Regions from separate parts of the Homo sapiens genome. Here regions 2, 3, 4 and 5 are each linked to region 1. Evidence: promoter capture Hi-C in human tissues and cell types (Jung and others, 2019). All regions are on one chromosome and are shown on one strand. Each heading gives the region's core, a stretch centred on a gene start or on the middle of the fragment in contact. The rest is flanking DNA. Distances are from core to core; before and after follow the strand shown. Region 1 holds the start of CCDC146 (coiled-coil domain containing 146). Region 2 overlaps LINC03009 (long intergenic non-protein coding RNA 3009). Region 3 overlaps APTR (Alu-mediated CDKN1A/p21 transcriptional regulator). Region 4 overlaps YWHAG (tyrosine 3-monooxygenase/tryptophan 5-monooxygenase activation protein gamma). Region 5 holds the start of HSPB1 (heat shock protein family B (small) member 1).

Region 1 (2,717 bases), core at 60-2,559:
AAGAAAAGAACTATTGCAGTGGGCCCTTGCTGAACCTGAGCTAGCACCTATAATGAGTGAGTCTTCACCGAAAGAAGAATAAGGAGGGAGCAAGGACTAGAAGGACAGAAAAGAGGCAATGATAACTTAAGAGAACACTGAATTTTTAAAAATTTTAAAAAGGTAGTGGCTAGCAGAGAACCTGAGACTTGTACCCATGAGAACTTTAGCCCAGTCTATCTATCACGATAGCCCCAAGAATTCTGGTCATTGTACTTGGGTAAGGGCTTCAATTTTTTAAGGCACTTGCATTTTATGAAATGTTAGTGTTTGCAGGTGTCTTGGCTAAATAATTTAGGGAATACATTTTAGGAGGAAGTAGGGGCACAGAGGGGGAGAGAGAAACCAGGCAGGAAAGAAGAAAAAAAGAAGAAAATAAATCTTTCTGTTCCCATTATTTTACTGCCCATAGAATTATAAAAGGTAAACACACACACACACACACACACACACACACACACACACACACACACACACACACCTTATAGGGTCATTTAGAACCATCTTTCTTCATTTTAAAACTAAAGAAACAGGTCTAGGTGACACAGATGAAGCAGTGGCAGAGCCAGGAAAATAATCTGACCCTTGTCCCTGCTCTTTCCACCGCACCATGGTGACTCTCTTTTTTGTGTCTTTTTTTTTTTCACTCTAAAACTGATGATCATTTGTAGTCAAAGAGATCAATGCTATTCTCAAAACAAGTTCTGATCTCTCATAATTTTCTTGGTAACTCAGAATCAATGTTAAGTACGTTGAAATAAAAATACAGTACTTTACACGGTAATTTGGTAGACTGTGCACCACGGTCCCATCCATTTTCTTACTTGATCCTCACAAAAACCCTTTGAGGCAAGGCAAGGAAGGTATTATCATCTACATTTTTAAAGTGAGCAAATTAAAACCCAAAGTAAGGTCACTTAGGGTCAGGACGGAGCAAGTACTCTATTCCTATATTTGGAATATAGGAGGGAATACACTTCCAAAGAGGCAATTCCCTCAAAAAGCACCAATCTTGCTCTTTACTCTCTTACCAAGGCATTCTCCATGCCCTGGAGATGCCCGCACTAGGTTAGTGAAGCTTGGATCTTGACATCCACATAGGTTACTCCTAGTTTGCACCTAGTTGTCAACTTAAAAAGCGCAGTTTCTTACCCCTTCCCTTGGTCCTGATCCTTATTTAGGCTCCTATTTTTCTCTTTGGGATTTGGCCTCCTGGGTCTCACTCCAAAGCTCCACCCTCTCCAAACAAGAAGTCGCGTCCTTGGTATCCAAGGTGACCATGCAGCTTTACCCTCGTTGCCCCCTTCCGTGCTTCCCATTGGCCAGTGGCCTCCCATGTACCGCCCCTCCAATAGCCAATGGTCTTGAAACAAAGGGCGCCCGCCTTTCCAGCGATTCTAACACCTGCCCTCTTACCCGTGCTCCCCTGCGCATTGCCTCCTGGGATATGTGGTTTCTAAGAGGCGGAGCTCTGCGACTTTCCACCGCTTTAGAACTACGTATCCCGTCGGCCTTAGCGAAAGGGGGTGGACTTAGGCAAGGGGTCCAGGTCAGAGTTCAGAGCTTTCAAATCCCAACTTGCCCCTGGGGATTACGCAGCTGATGTTTACATCGCCTAGTCAAGCCAACCGGCTCGCTCTTGTTTCAGCAAACCCTGACTTACGTCTCCTATTTGACTTGAGGCGGCACAGTGGCCAAGTCGATTGGCCGTGGCAAGTGACCCTCCCTGTGGCTGAAGTGTTCTGAGGACTGGCGAGAGAGGCGCGCCATGCTTGCCCCCTGTTCAGGTTGGGAGCTTGGCTGCTTCCGTCTCTGTCTCCGTCAGGTCCGACTGTGGGCTGGCGCTGGGCGCTGGTCTTGCTGGGCTTGCCAAGCCAGGCCGTACAGCTCAGGTAGGGGCGAGCGCTGGCCCGGATCGGAGACTGAGGTCCCTCCGCCTGGCCCGGCGCGCCGAACTCTGAAGGAGTGGACACTGCAGGTGAGCCCGTTCGGTCGGCTGCGGGCGCGGCTCCCGTGCCACCTGGCCGTGAGGCCCCTGGACCCCCTCACCTACCCGGATGGCGACCGCGTGCTGGTCGCGGTGTGCGGCGTGGAGGGCGGCGTGCGGGGCCTGGACGGCCTGCAGGTGAAGTACGACGAGGATCTGGAGGAGATGGCCATTGTGTCTGATACTATCCACCCCCAGGCGTCCGTGGAGGTGAACGCGCCCCTGAAGTTTGGCAAGTGAAGTGAAGTGAAAACGGGTTTGGGTCCCAGGGAACGCACAGTGAACTTAATAAATTTGGTCGACGTGCACTTTTAATTGGTCCTGGCTTTCTAAACCTAATTTACAGTTGGCCCCTTCGGAAATGCAACTTTTCCTCTGTTCTATTCTTGAGTATCCGAGTAGTATTTAAAAAATTAGGTTCCCAATTATAGAAATTTTATACATCGAATGGAAACACGATTTGGTATAATCCAGGTCAAATTCTATTTCTGGAGCCGCTTGTGTTCTTCTTTATCCCGTTGTCATTAGCAAACTGGCTTATTTTTCAAGGTTGAAGTTTCTTGACAATTCATTCAATGGTATGGCAGTCCATCTACATTTCCCCTTGCTCACAGCCTGGGGGTGTGTCCCAAAACAGCCCTGTCAATAGGATGTTCCAGGTACCACCTGGTTTGAGTATTTGGTTTTAGAC
Region 2 (2,700 bases), core at 136-2,635, 570 kb after region 1:
TTCTTTAACACATTTTCCCATTTTTTTTCTAATTATACTGGCAATTTTATAACACCTTTTATTTTAGGAATGAGATGTGGAAATGAATAAATGATAGCAATGAACCTTTAGACATTTCTTACAATGTGCCAGGTGCTGTTCTAAGGCCTTTACTTGTACTAACTGATTTAAGGTTTATAACAACCCTAAGAGGTAGGTGCTATAATTTGCCTCATTTCACGGATGAGGAAACTGGTGTATAGGAAGGTTTAGTAACTTTCCCAAGGTCAAAAGACTGGTGAATTTTCATCCCGTATTCAAACCCAGGAAGTCTGGCTCCCAAGTCACTACATTATATGCTACTGTCTGGTAAGCTATTAAATTATGCCCAAGTATGGGAAGTTATGCTGAAATTGATATTTCAACTGATCTTCAACTGTGTATTGAGAAATAAATAGAACTGTGATGAAAGGAAGTGGAAATAAGAGCCTATACCATAACACGGCACTGTAAGTTGGTGATATTTTCTAGATATGGAGAAAAGATCATTGTCACAGGTGTATCAGATACATGGGGTGGAGACTGGGAGCTGAGATAAAAAAGGAAGGTTTTCAGTAATGGGTTTGGTCAGGATTTTACCCTGAATGAGAAAGTAACAGTTTGACTGTTGTTGGAGTACAGTGTAGAAGTTAAGAACAGAATTCTGACTCTATTATGATCTAGCTCTCCAAAATCAGAATCTAACCTTTGGTAGAGTCATCTCATAAATCAAAATAAAAATCAAGGTTGGTTTAAAGATTTAAATATTATAATGAATGTTCAGCATTTAGCTAGTCTGGTCAAGTGATAGGCAGTACTCTCAACTGCCATTATTACTAGTCAAAGCAAGATTTGGTGAGACAGTGGACAATCTAGTCAGACAGATGAAAAAAAAAACCTTTAAGTGGTAGTAGGCACAGGTTTTGACTATCAGGCAAATTCAGAGAAGGAGAAAAAAAAATAAGGATAACACTGATACTTTGAGGTTTCGAGACTATGTACTTAATGATGTAAACTGGGGGTCAAAATGAAGAAGAAGGAAGAAATTGAAGGACAAAGTGGGCTGGGCATAGTGGCTCATGCCTGTAATCCCAGCACTTTGGGAGGCCAAGGTGGGCAGATCACCTGAGGTCAGGAGTTCGAGACCAGACTGGGCAACATGGTGAAACCCTGTCTCTACTAAAAATACACACACAAAATAAAATTAACCAGGCGTGGTGGTAGTAGCCTGTAATCCCAGCTACTCAGGAGGCTGAGGCAGGAGAATCGCTTGAACCAGGAAGGCAGAGTTTGCAGTGAGCCGAGATCGCACCACTGCATTCCAGCCTGGTTGACAGAGCAAGACTGCGTCTCAAAAATAAATAAATAAATACATAAATAAATAAAATATTAAAAAGAACAAAAGTGCTCACTTTATTTTTAGAAACATCAAAGTGAGATACTTCAAGTCTAGCTATGAAGATATAGAATATATGTGTATGTATAGAAGTCTCTCTATATTCTGATTATCCCAATATTAACAAGACATAATAAAATCAGTTTATAAAATATTATATCTACTAAAATATCTGTTAATCAATATCACCATGTTTTACCAGTAGAATAAAAAATTATAAAGTACATAACATTGACTCTGAGAAACTGTAATAGCTTAAAGTGCCTTCTGGATCCCCAGAGATTAAATTATATAGAGTATTATTTTACTGTTTAATGTATTTTATTGCATTCTAATTATATAAATGTATGTAAACCACAAAAGCTATGAGTATGAAGAAAATGCATTCTGGTTTCTGGAACAGTCTCAATTTTAAGATTATTTATCTGTTTAGTAAGCTGTGTATTTAAAAATAATAACATTTATTGAGTTCATCCACTGACTGTCAAGTATCTCTGTGTGTCCACAGCATAGGCAATGTTACACAGAGCTGGTGATAGCAGGAGACGGATCTGCAGTGACAAGCAAGGGTAGCTTCATCAAGGCAACACCCATTTCTTGAAACAATGGCTGTCTCCAAACAAAGTCTCCACTGCTCTGTGTTTGCCTCTGAAAACTATCTAGCTGATTATGCAAAAATGCCCTACTCTTTTGCTATGCTAGGTTAAATTAAATTTATTATGTTGTTATGTTTCCATTTTTATTATTTCTGAATACTGATACAGTGTTTTTAGAAGCCAGATTAGAGTTTTTCAAATTAGAGTTTCAAAATGTTCTCCTAACCCGAGGAAATTAATTTTATGAGCGACTTAAGCATCTACACTCTAAAAAGACACCTGCTTTCTCATGGTAAATATATGACTTTAGGATAATTTAAAGAGCCTTTGAAAAGTTAAAAAAGATCAGCAAAATCTACTAATAAAAACAGACAAGATGCTCAGGGGATTCAAAGTAGGTTAAGCTATCAAAATATAAATGCCATTTGAGAGGGATTCTGGCACTAAATTTAGGATTTTAGCATTTTGACACTGATAAATCTTGCTGCAGGGTTCCTAAATCTGATGAGAACACGTGGTAGTGATGCCCAAATGCCTGAATTAAAATATAGTTTGATATTTCAGTTATTAGATTAAAATCAGAAACCTTTAAACACACAGTAATTTATGTAGGATCCTTTTTGTGGGAGACTTCTAAAGCAGAGATTGACTCAGTTTGACTCTGGAAAGCTTCTAAATTGAAGACTTTAA
Region 3 (2,700 bases), core at 51-2,550, 560 kb before region 1:
TAACTTGAAAATTTCAAATTGTGTAGGAGTTACAATGTGTGTAATTGTTATTATAGTACTGGATCCAAATAATTTATAAATAAATAAATATAGACATAATATGGTGTATTACAGGTTAAATTGTGTACCTCAAAAATTCATGTTTAAGTTCTAACCCTCATTATCTCAAACTGTGACCTTATTTGGAAATACTATCATTGCAGATGCAATAGTTAATGAGGTCAAGTTAAGAAGCAATAGGAGGCCAGGCATGGTGGCTCACACCTGTAATCGCAGCACTCTGGGGAGGCCAAGGTGGGTGGATCACCTGAAGTCAGGAGATCAAGAGCAACCTGGGCAACATGGTGAAACTCCGTCTCTACTAAAAATACACAAATTAGGCTGGGCTTGATGTCTCACACCTGTAATCCCAGCACTTTGGGAGGCCAAGGCGGGCGGATCACCTGAGGTCAGGAGTTCGAGACCAGCCTGGCCAACATAGTGAAACCCCATCTCTACTAAAAATACAAAAATTATTTTGTATTTTGGTGGCGGACACCTGTAAGTAATCCCAGCTACTCGGGAGGGTGAGGCAGGAGAATCGCTTAAACCTGGGAGGTGGAGTTTGCAGTGAACCAAGATCACACCACTGCACTCCAGCTTAGGAGACAGGGCTAGACTCTGTCTCAAACAAACAAGCAAACAAACAAAAGAAAGAAGAAAAGAAGGAGCGAAAAGGTGGGCCCCCAATCCCTAATCCAGTATGACTAATGTCCTTCCAAGAACAGAAAATTTGAACAGAGACACACAAACGGGAAGAATACCTATGCCTTTTGAAGGTAAAGGCGGACATTGGGGTAATGCTTTTACAAGCCAAGGAACTCCGAAGGTAGCCAGCAAACTGTCAGAAGCTAGGCGAGGGTCCTGGGACAGATTCTCCTCACAGCCCTCAGAAGGAATCAGTCCCGCTGACACCTTGATCTTGGACTTGTAGCCTCAGGAACTGTGAGGCAAATGTCTGTTGTTTAAACTATCCAGTTTGTGATACTTTGTTACAGCAGCCCTAGCAAATTGAGCTACTTGGTCAAAAACTTCAGGCAACACTGATGAGATGATGTAAAGGCTTTAAAGAGTTGGTTTATGTTTAAGAGTCCAAATTATCAACGTCCTATCTTTACTCAGTCTCTGTATTCAAGAATTGACCTTAGGCCAGGTGCAGTAGTTCACGCCTGTAATCCCAATACTTTGGGATGCCAAGGTAGGAGGATTGCTTGAGGTCAGGAGTTTGAGATCAGCCCTTGTATATTAGTTCGTTCTCATGCTGCTGATAAAGACATACCCAAGACTGGGTAATTTATAAGGAAAAAGAGGTTTAATGGACTCACGGTTCCATGTGGCTGGAGAGGCCTCAATCATGGCGGAAGGTGAAAGGCATGTCTTAGGTGGCGGCAGACAAAAGAGAAATGAGAGCCAAGTGAGAAGGGAAACCCCTTATAAAATCATCAGATCTCGTGAGACTTATTCACTACCATGAGAACAGTATGGGGAAAGCGTCCCCATGATTCAGTTCCCACCGGGTCCCTCCCACCACATGTGGGAGTTCTGGGAGCTACAATTGAAGATGAGATTTGAGTGGGGACAAAGCCAAACCATATCACCTTTTCTCTACTAAAAATTAAAATTAATTAAAAAATTAAGCTGGCATGGTACTATATGTCTGTAGTCCTAGCTACTTGGGATGCCGAGGTGGGAGGATTGCTTGAGCCCACGAGGTTGAGGCTGCAGTGAGTCATGATCATGCCACTGCACTCCAGCCTGGACAACAGAGCAAGGCCCTGATGCAAAAAACAAAAAATAATAATTTAACTTAAAGTGATGTCTTGATTGCAGTGTTTATTCTACTTTTTAAAGCCATTGTGGTGGGAAAACAATTTGTTTACATTTGTAGTACAGTTTATGTTAAAGGTTGAAGAAATTGGGAAATATTTTATCTTTAACTCAAGACAGGATGGTGATATGCAACAGTTATAGGCAAAAAATATTTACATTTAAGAAAAAAAGTATCATTTAATCCCATTAGGCAGAAGTGGAGTCAAAAGCAAAAATATGGCTGGTTATGGATGTATGTTTCCCTTCCTGTTCATATGTTGAAACCTAATTCCCAATGTGATGGGTTTTGGAGATGGGGTCTTTGGGAGGTAATAGGTCATGAGAGTGGAACCCTCGTGGATGGGATTAGTGCCATATAAGAAGAGTCCATAGAGCTAGCTCACTCCCTTTCTGCCATGTGAGGATACAAGAAGTCGGCCTGGAAAAGAGCCCTCACCAGAACCCTACAATGGCACTCTGATCTTGGACATTCGGCCTCCGGAGCTGTGAGAAATAAATTGTCTTTAAGCTATCCAGTTTATGGTACTTTATTACACCAGCCCAAACTGACTGAAGATGGGGTCCTACCAAGCGAAATCATAGCTGTGAACAGTGTAATAGTATCTCATCAGCATGGGGAGGGCTATAGGCAAAACATGCACTAGTCTAGCTACTTAATCTTCAAGTATTAAGGACAACCTGTCCTTTTTATACAAGTCATACATTAGACATGTGCCTGAGATTACAAAACACTGTGATCGAGTTTTCAAGGCTAGGGATACACCTCAAACTCAGATGTACTTCTTTGGTGCCTATTTGTAAGTCAGCAAAATCCAGAACTCAGCAATATGT
Region 4 (2,790 bases), core at 259-2,758, 780 kb after region 1:
CATGACCAAGTTCAGATTATGGAGGTAGAGAGATAACCCATCTCTTGATGAGAGTGGCTGGATTCATATTGGAAAGGAGGTGGGTGGAAGGAATGACAGAATCAGGAGGAATTACTAGGACCCTTTTTGAAAACAATCTCAGATGGGTACATCATGTGGAGATTGATGTCATTCAGCACACTTTCAGAAGTGACTGTTGAGTTAAGGTACCACCATGATTCATGGGTGATGCTGATTCATATGGCCAAGCCCAGATTCTAGGGGTGGAGTATGAGCGTTATATTAATGTGAAGAAGCAGAGAGAGGTGTGATGGGAAGAGTCTGAGTCTGGTGGCTGGGGTATCGAGAACTCACAGCAGGGTTCTTCTGCTTCCACAATATGTGCATTCGGAGCAGATGATCCTTTGCTAATGTGGAGGCCATCCTGTGCATTGTAGGGTGTTCAGCAGCATCCCTGGCCTCCACCCAGTAGATACCTTAATAAAGCTGATTTTTAAAAACGGCTGCAGTACACCATAGTTTACAACAGCTTTTACACATAACAACCTAATTTTTTTTCTTGAGATGGAGTCTTGCTCTGTCACCCAGGCTGGAGTGCAATGGTGCAATCTTGGCTCACTGCAACCTCTGTCTCCTGGTTTCAAGCGATTCTCCTACCTCACCCTCTCAAGTAGCTGGGATTACAGGCGCCTGCCACCACACCCAGCTAATTTTTGTATTTTTAGTAGAGACGGGGCTTCATGATGTTGGCTAGGCTGGTCTCGAATTCCTGACCTCAGGTGATCCTCCTGCCTCGGCCTCCCAAAGTGGTGGGATTACAGGTGTGAGCCACTGTGCCCGGCTGGTTAATTTTTTTTAACAGTTTAATTTTTTGGTGGGAAAGTCCTCTCTCCCCGCCACTTCCAAGTCAGATCTATGATAAAACTAGTAATTAATTAGAAATAGTCACTAGTTTGTTTGATGAGTTCAGAAAGTAGCCCAGCGGAGGTTCGAAGCCTGATATACTAAATAGCAGGCTGAAAGGTATTGATAAGCAGGAGCGCATTTAGGGGAAGATTGGGACAGGGATGGAAACAGTGAGTAAAGTTAGAGAAGACTCTAGGATATGAGAACCAGTCTCGCCAGTTTCAAAAATGCATTCTGGCCCCCAAGAGAGAAAGATCTTAAGGCCAGCGAATGGCAGTTGTAGGGAAATAAGCAGCCTTGATATGAAGAAGTCAAGTACTTGTTAACCTCTGAAGGTGGAATTCAACCAAGTTCTCACAGGAGTGTGCAACATAGGGTCAGAGACCGTCCTTCACCCAGCAGGGTTTGTAAGAAGGAAGGGAGTGCTGGTTTGGGGAGGAAGGTGTGGATTATCTGCATTTCAGAGTGAGTTCTCTTAGTGTGTTTCTTCTTTGACTTTTTCCTCCGTATTGGTGGGATCGAATGCTTCATAATGACAGATACCCATGGCAGGACATGTACATTTCCTGTCCTTTTTCATCTTTCTTTTATGATAGCTGTGCATAAATCTAAACAAGCCCTTTCGTTCACCTTTTTGGAGAGGATATTGAGAAATATAACCTGCACTACATTACTAGATGTTGGTAGGAGGTCACAAGAGGAGGATTAAATGTAAGAGCCAGAGGTCTGTGCTCCATTACAGTGAGTTTTCTGTGTGTAAGTCCATGTATTAAGAAGCATCAAGTATTTCGAATTTTATATTTCAAACAAGTGAGCTGATGATGTTTGATTGCTGGTGTGTGTGAGAGTGCTATATAAACTGTCGTATAGTGCAGCAATTTTTCAGTAGCTTTGTTGAGATATAGTTTACATACCATGCGATTCACCCATTTAAAGTGTGCAATTTAATGGTTTTCAGTATGTTCAGACTTGCATAACCATCACCACATTCTAGAACATGCCATCAACCCAAAAAGAAACCCCATATTGGCAGTCATTCCCCATCACCTCCCCTCCCAACCCAGCCCTAAGTAACCACTAATCTGCTTTCTATTTCTATGGATTTGCCTATTCTGGACATATTATGTAACTGGAATCAAACAATATGCGGTCTTTTGGACTGGCTGCTTCCATTTAGCAAAATGTTTTCGAGATCATCGGTGTAGCATGTTATCAGTGCATCATTTGTCTGTCTAAATAATATTCCATTACATAGATCACACTACGTTTTGTTCAGCCGTTCCTCATTTGATGTACATTTGCATTGTTTCCACCTTTTGGCTCTTAGGACTAACGTTGCTGTGAACATTACAAGATTTCTCTTTTTTTTTTTTTTTTTTTTTTTTTTGAGGCAAGAGTCTTGTCCTGTCACCCAGGCTGGAGTGCAGTGGCGCCACCTCAGCTCACTACAGCCTCCGCCTCCTGGGTTCAAGTGATTCTCGTGTCTCAGCCTCCTGAGTAGCTGGGATTACAGGTGCGAGCCACCATGCCCGGCTCATTTTTGTATTTTTAGTTATTTTTAGTTAGAGATGGGGTTTCACCATGTTGCCCAGGCTGGTCTCAAACTCCTGACCTCAAGTGATCTGCCAGCTTCAGCCTCCTAAAGTGCTGGGATTACAGGCATGAGCCAACCCTCCCAGCCCCTGTACAAGATTCTGTATGGGCCAGGTGCGGTGGCTTCCCCTGCACTTTAGGGGGCTGGGGAGGGGCGGGAGGATCACTTTGGTGGCACATGCCTGTAGTCCCAGCTACTTGGGAGGCTAGGCTCAGGCAGAAGGATTGCTTGAGCCCGAGGCTGCAGTGGGCCCTGATCATACTACTGCACTCCAGCCTGGGTGACAGAGT
Region 5 (2,700 bases), core at 1-2,500, 820 kb after region 1:
CTTCCCTGACCCCACCCCCACGCCACCCACCCACCCCGACCTGGCGCCAGGACTCACGTGTATTTCCGCGTGAAGCACCGGGAGATGTAGCCATGCTCGTCCTGCCGCTCCTCGTGCTTGCCTTTGGGGGGAAGAGGGAAATCAGACTGCGGGGGAGGGGACTGCCTTTCGGCCCCGCTAGGCCAGAGGCCCCACCTCCTGCTTGGAAGCAGCCAGGACTGCAGGCTGGTAGGGATTAACAGAGGGGGTTGGGGATGGGGGCGTGCCCGCCGGTCTGGGCTCTCAGAAACTTCCGGAAAGTTCTTCGATTCAGAGTTTTGGGAGGAACGGAGCAGGGCGCGGAGCTGGGGAGTGAGCAGTACGCAGGCGCACTTGGAGCCGCGCACACGCCCACTCAGCGGCTAGAAACTGGCACCGCGCCAGGGAACTCCCCGCTTATCTGGGGATGGGGCTGTGGGTGGGAAGGGGACTCTGTAGAAAAGCGCATTTTCTCTCTTCATCGATGATCTTTAAAAAAATTTTTGTTTGCTTTTTTTTTGTAATGGCGCGGGGTCGGGGCGGGGGGGCGCGTCTCGCTATGTTGCCCAGGCTAGTCTTGAACTCCTGGCCTCAAGCGATCCTCCCGTCTCGGCCTCCCAAAGCGCTGGGATTACAGAGCAGAAAGCGCCCTTAGAAGCGACCCGCACTCCCAATTCCTGAGCAAGGGAATCAGGAGTCCTGTTTTTCCCGGTGCTGGGCCAACGTTTAACTCCCCAGGCCCCCGGGACCCCCGTTTCAACCGCACGCCCCCGGCCCTGCCCGCCCTGCTAGCCTCCTCCTCTCCCCTGCAGGAGCAGGGGGGCTCACCGGTGATCTCCACCACGCCATCCTTGGTCTTGACCGTCAGCTCGTCCGGGGCGAAGTGGTTGACATCCAGGGACACGCGCCAGCGGTCCGCAGTGTGCCGGATCTCCGAGACCCCGCTGCTGAGTTGCCGGCTGAGCGCGCGGCTGTAGGCGGGCGCGGCCACTGCGGGGCTCTCGATGGCGGCGGGGGGCAGGGGGCGCACGTAGCCTGGCCAGCTGCTGCCGCCTAACCACTGCGACCACTCCTCCGGCAGCCGGGGCAGCCCGAAGGCCTGGTCGAAGAGGCGGCTATGCGGGTACCAGTCGCGGAAGGGGTCCCAGCTGGGGCCCCGCAGGAGCGAGAAGGGGACGCGGCGCTCGGTCATGCTGGCTGACTCTGCTCTGGACGTCTGCTCAGAAAAGTGCGGGGCGCTGGGCTCGGCTGCGCTTTTATGCTCCTCCAGTCGGGTATTTTTAGCAGGCGGTGTTTGAGGTCTCTATTAATGGCAATGACCCGTTTGAGGGCCGCCCCTCCCCATGCACTCCTCCCCCAGCGTTCAGGGGCCGTGGGCGGGGCGAAGAGGGTTCAGCCCTCATCTGGAACCTTCTCTCGTTAAGGAAAGCAAATGAATTCGAGAGCGCGACGCTGGAGCCGTGCCACGGCAGGGCACTCGCCGGCCCTGGTGCTTAAGCGTTGCTGGCTGTGGCCCGTGGCCAGGGCCGTCCTTCTGTTAAGGAGGACAGAGCCAGACAGGTTGGGTTGGGGCATACAACTGAGAAGTGGCAGAGGCAGGATTGGAACCACACGCGTGTGAGATAGAATGTGATAAAAGGAGTCTGGTGCTTGAGCCCAGGAGTTGAGGCTGCAGTGAGCTATGATCTCACCACTGCACTCCAGCCTAGGCAACAGATCAAAGTCTTGTCTCTCAAAAAAATTTTAAAAAGGGGCTGGGTGCATGGCTCATGCCTGTAATCTCAGCACTTTGGGAGGCCAAGGCAGAAGGGTCCCTTGAGGCTAGGAGTTTGAGACCAGTCTGGGCAACATAGTGAGACCCTACTTCTACCAAAAAATATTTAAAAATTAGCTGGGCATGGTGGTGCATGCCTGTGGCCCCAGCTACTCCAGAGGCTGAAGCAGGAGGATCCTTTGAACCCCGGTGAGTAGAGGCTGTGGTGAGCTGGATTGCACCACTGCACTTCAGCCTGGGCTACAGAGCAAAACCCTGTCTCAAAATAAGTAAATGAATAAATACAAATACAAAAATAAAGCAGTCTGGGCTGGGCGTGGTGGCTCACGCCTGTAATCCCAGCACTTTGGGAGACCGAGGTGGGAGGATCACCAGAGGTCAGGAGTTTGAGACCAGCCTGGCCAACATGGTGAAACCCCATCTCTACTAAAAATACAAAAATTAGCTGGGTGTGGTGGCGGGCGCCTGTAATCGCAGCTGCTGGGGAGGCTGAGGCAGGAGAATTGCTTGAACCCAGAAGGCAGAGGTTGCAGTGAGCCGAGATCTCACCACTGTACTCCAGCCTGGGTGACAGAGTGAGACTCCATCTCAAAAAAAAAAAAAGAAAAAAGAAAAAAGCAATCTAGTAATCTGGTGTGGTTGTTAGGCGTGTGGACTTTGAAGCCAGACTGCCTGAATTCACATCTTTGTTCCATCACTAAGCAGATGAACTTGTGCAAGTTAGATTCTTTGTGCCTCAGTTTCCCCATCTGGAAAATAGAGATGATAATGATGGTAACAGTCATGCATTGCATAAAGATGTGTAAGTCAGCAAGGGACAGCAAATATGAAGGTGGTCCCATAAAATTATATTACTGGCTGGGTGCAGTGGCTGACATCTGTAATCTTAGCACTTTGGGAGGCTGATG

Evidence for each region. The method cuts DNA at HindIII sites, captures the fragments that hold promoters and counts their contacts. A contact is called where the count stands out against the background at its distance.
Region 2: a contact is called between a fragment that was not itself captured here and the fragment with the promoter of CCDC146 in region 1, in 1 of the 25 tissues and cell types used here (dorsolateral prefrontal cortex).
Region 3: a contact is called between a fragment that was not itself captured here and the fragment with the promoter of CCDC146 in region 1, in 1 of the 25 tissues and cell types used here (hippocampus).
Region 4: a fragment that was not itself captured here is called in contact with the fragment with the promoter of CCDC146 in region 1 in 1 of the 25 tissues and cell types used here (hippocampus).
Region 5: the fragment with the promoter of HSPB1 here is called in contact with the fragment with the promoter of CCDC146 in region 1 in 1 of the 25 tissues and cell types used here (adrenal gland).

Annotation. Positions count from the first base shown.
Region 1 is chr7:77,121,207-77,123,923 of GRCh38, reverse strand. CCDC146 (coiled-coil domain containing 146) reads right to left here and starts at 1,309. Exons shown (of 19, transcript NM_020879.3): 1 at 1,192-1,309. It also overlaps the pseudogene FAM185BP. RefSeq lists a silencer at 1,524-1,623 and enhancers at 1,519-2,018, 2,019-2,520. The HindIII fragment of the contact is 9,649 bases long and covers 128-2,717 here.
Region 2 is chr7:76,553,239-76,555,938 of GRCh38, reverse strand. All of the region lies in intron 2 of LINC03009 (long intergenic non-protein coding RNA 3009), which reads right to left. Among named protein-coding and RNA genes, the nearest start is that of LINC03009, 5.2 kb to the right of the region's middle. The HindIII fragment of the contact is 3,853 bases long and covers 1-2,700 here.
Region 3 is chr7:77,681,250-77,683,949 of GRCh38, reverse strand. The region is part of intron 1 of APTR (Alu-mediated CDKN1A/p21 transcriptional regulator); the gene reads left to right. Among named protein-coding and RNA genes, the nearest start is that of APTR, 14 kb to the left of the region's middle. The HindIII fragment of the contact is 5,959 bases long and covers 1-2,700 here.
Region 4 is chr7:76,340,908-76,343,697 of GRCh38, reverse strand. All of the region lies in intron 1 of YWHAG (tyrosine 3-monooxygenase/tryptophan 5-monooxygenase activation protein gamma), which reads left to right. Among named protein-coding and RNA genes, the nearest start is that of YWHAG, 17 kb to the left of the region's middle. The HindIII fragment of the contact is 7,858 bases long and covers 1-2,790 here.
Region 5 is chr7:76,301,223-76,303,922 of GRCh38, reverse strand. HSPB1 (heat shock protein family B (small) member 1) reads right to left here and starts at 1,250. Exons shown (of 3, transcript NM_001540.5): 1 at 847-1,250; 2 at 58-121. The coding sequence starts at 1,210. The HindIII fragment of the contact is 16,042 bases long and covers 1-2,700 here.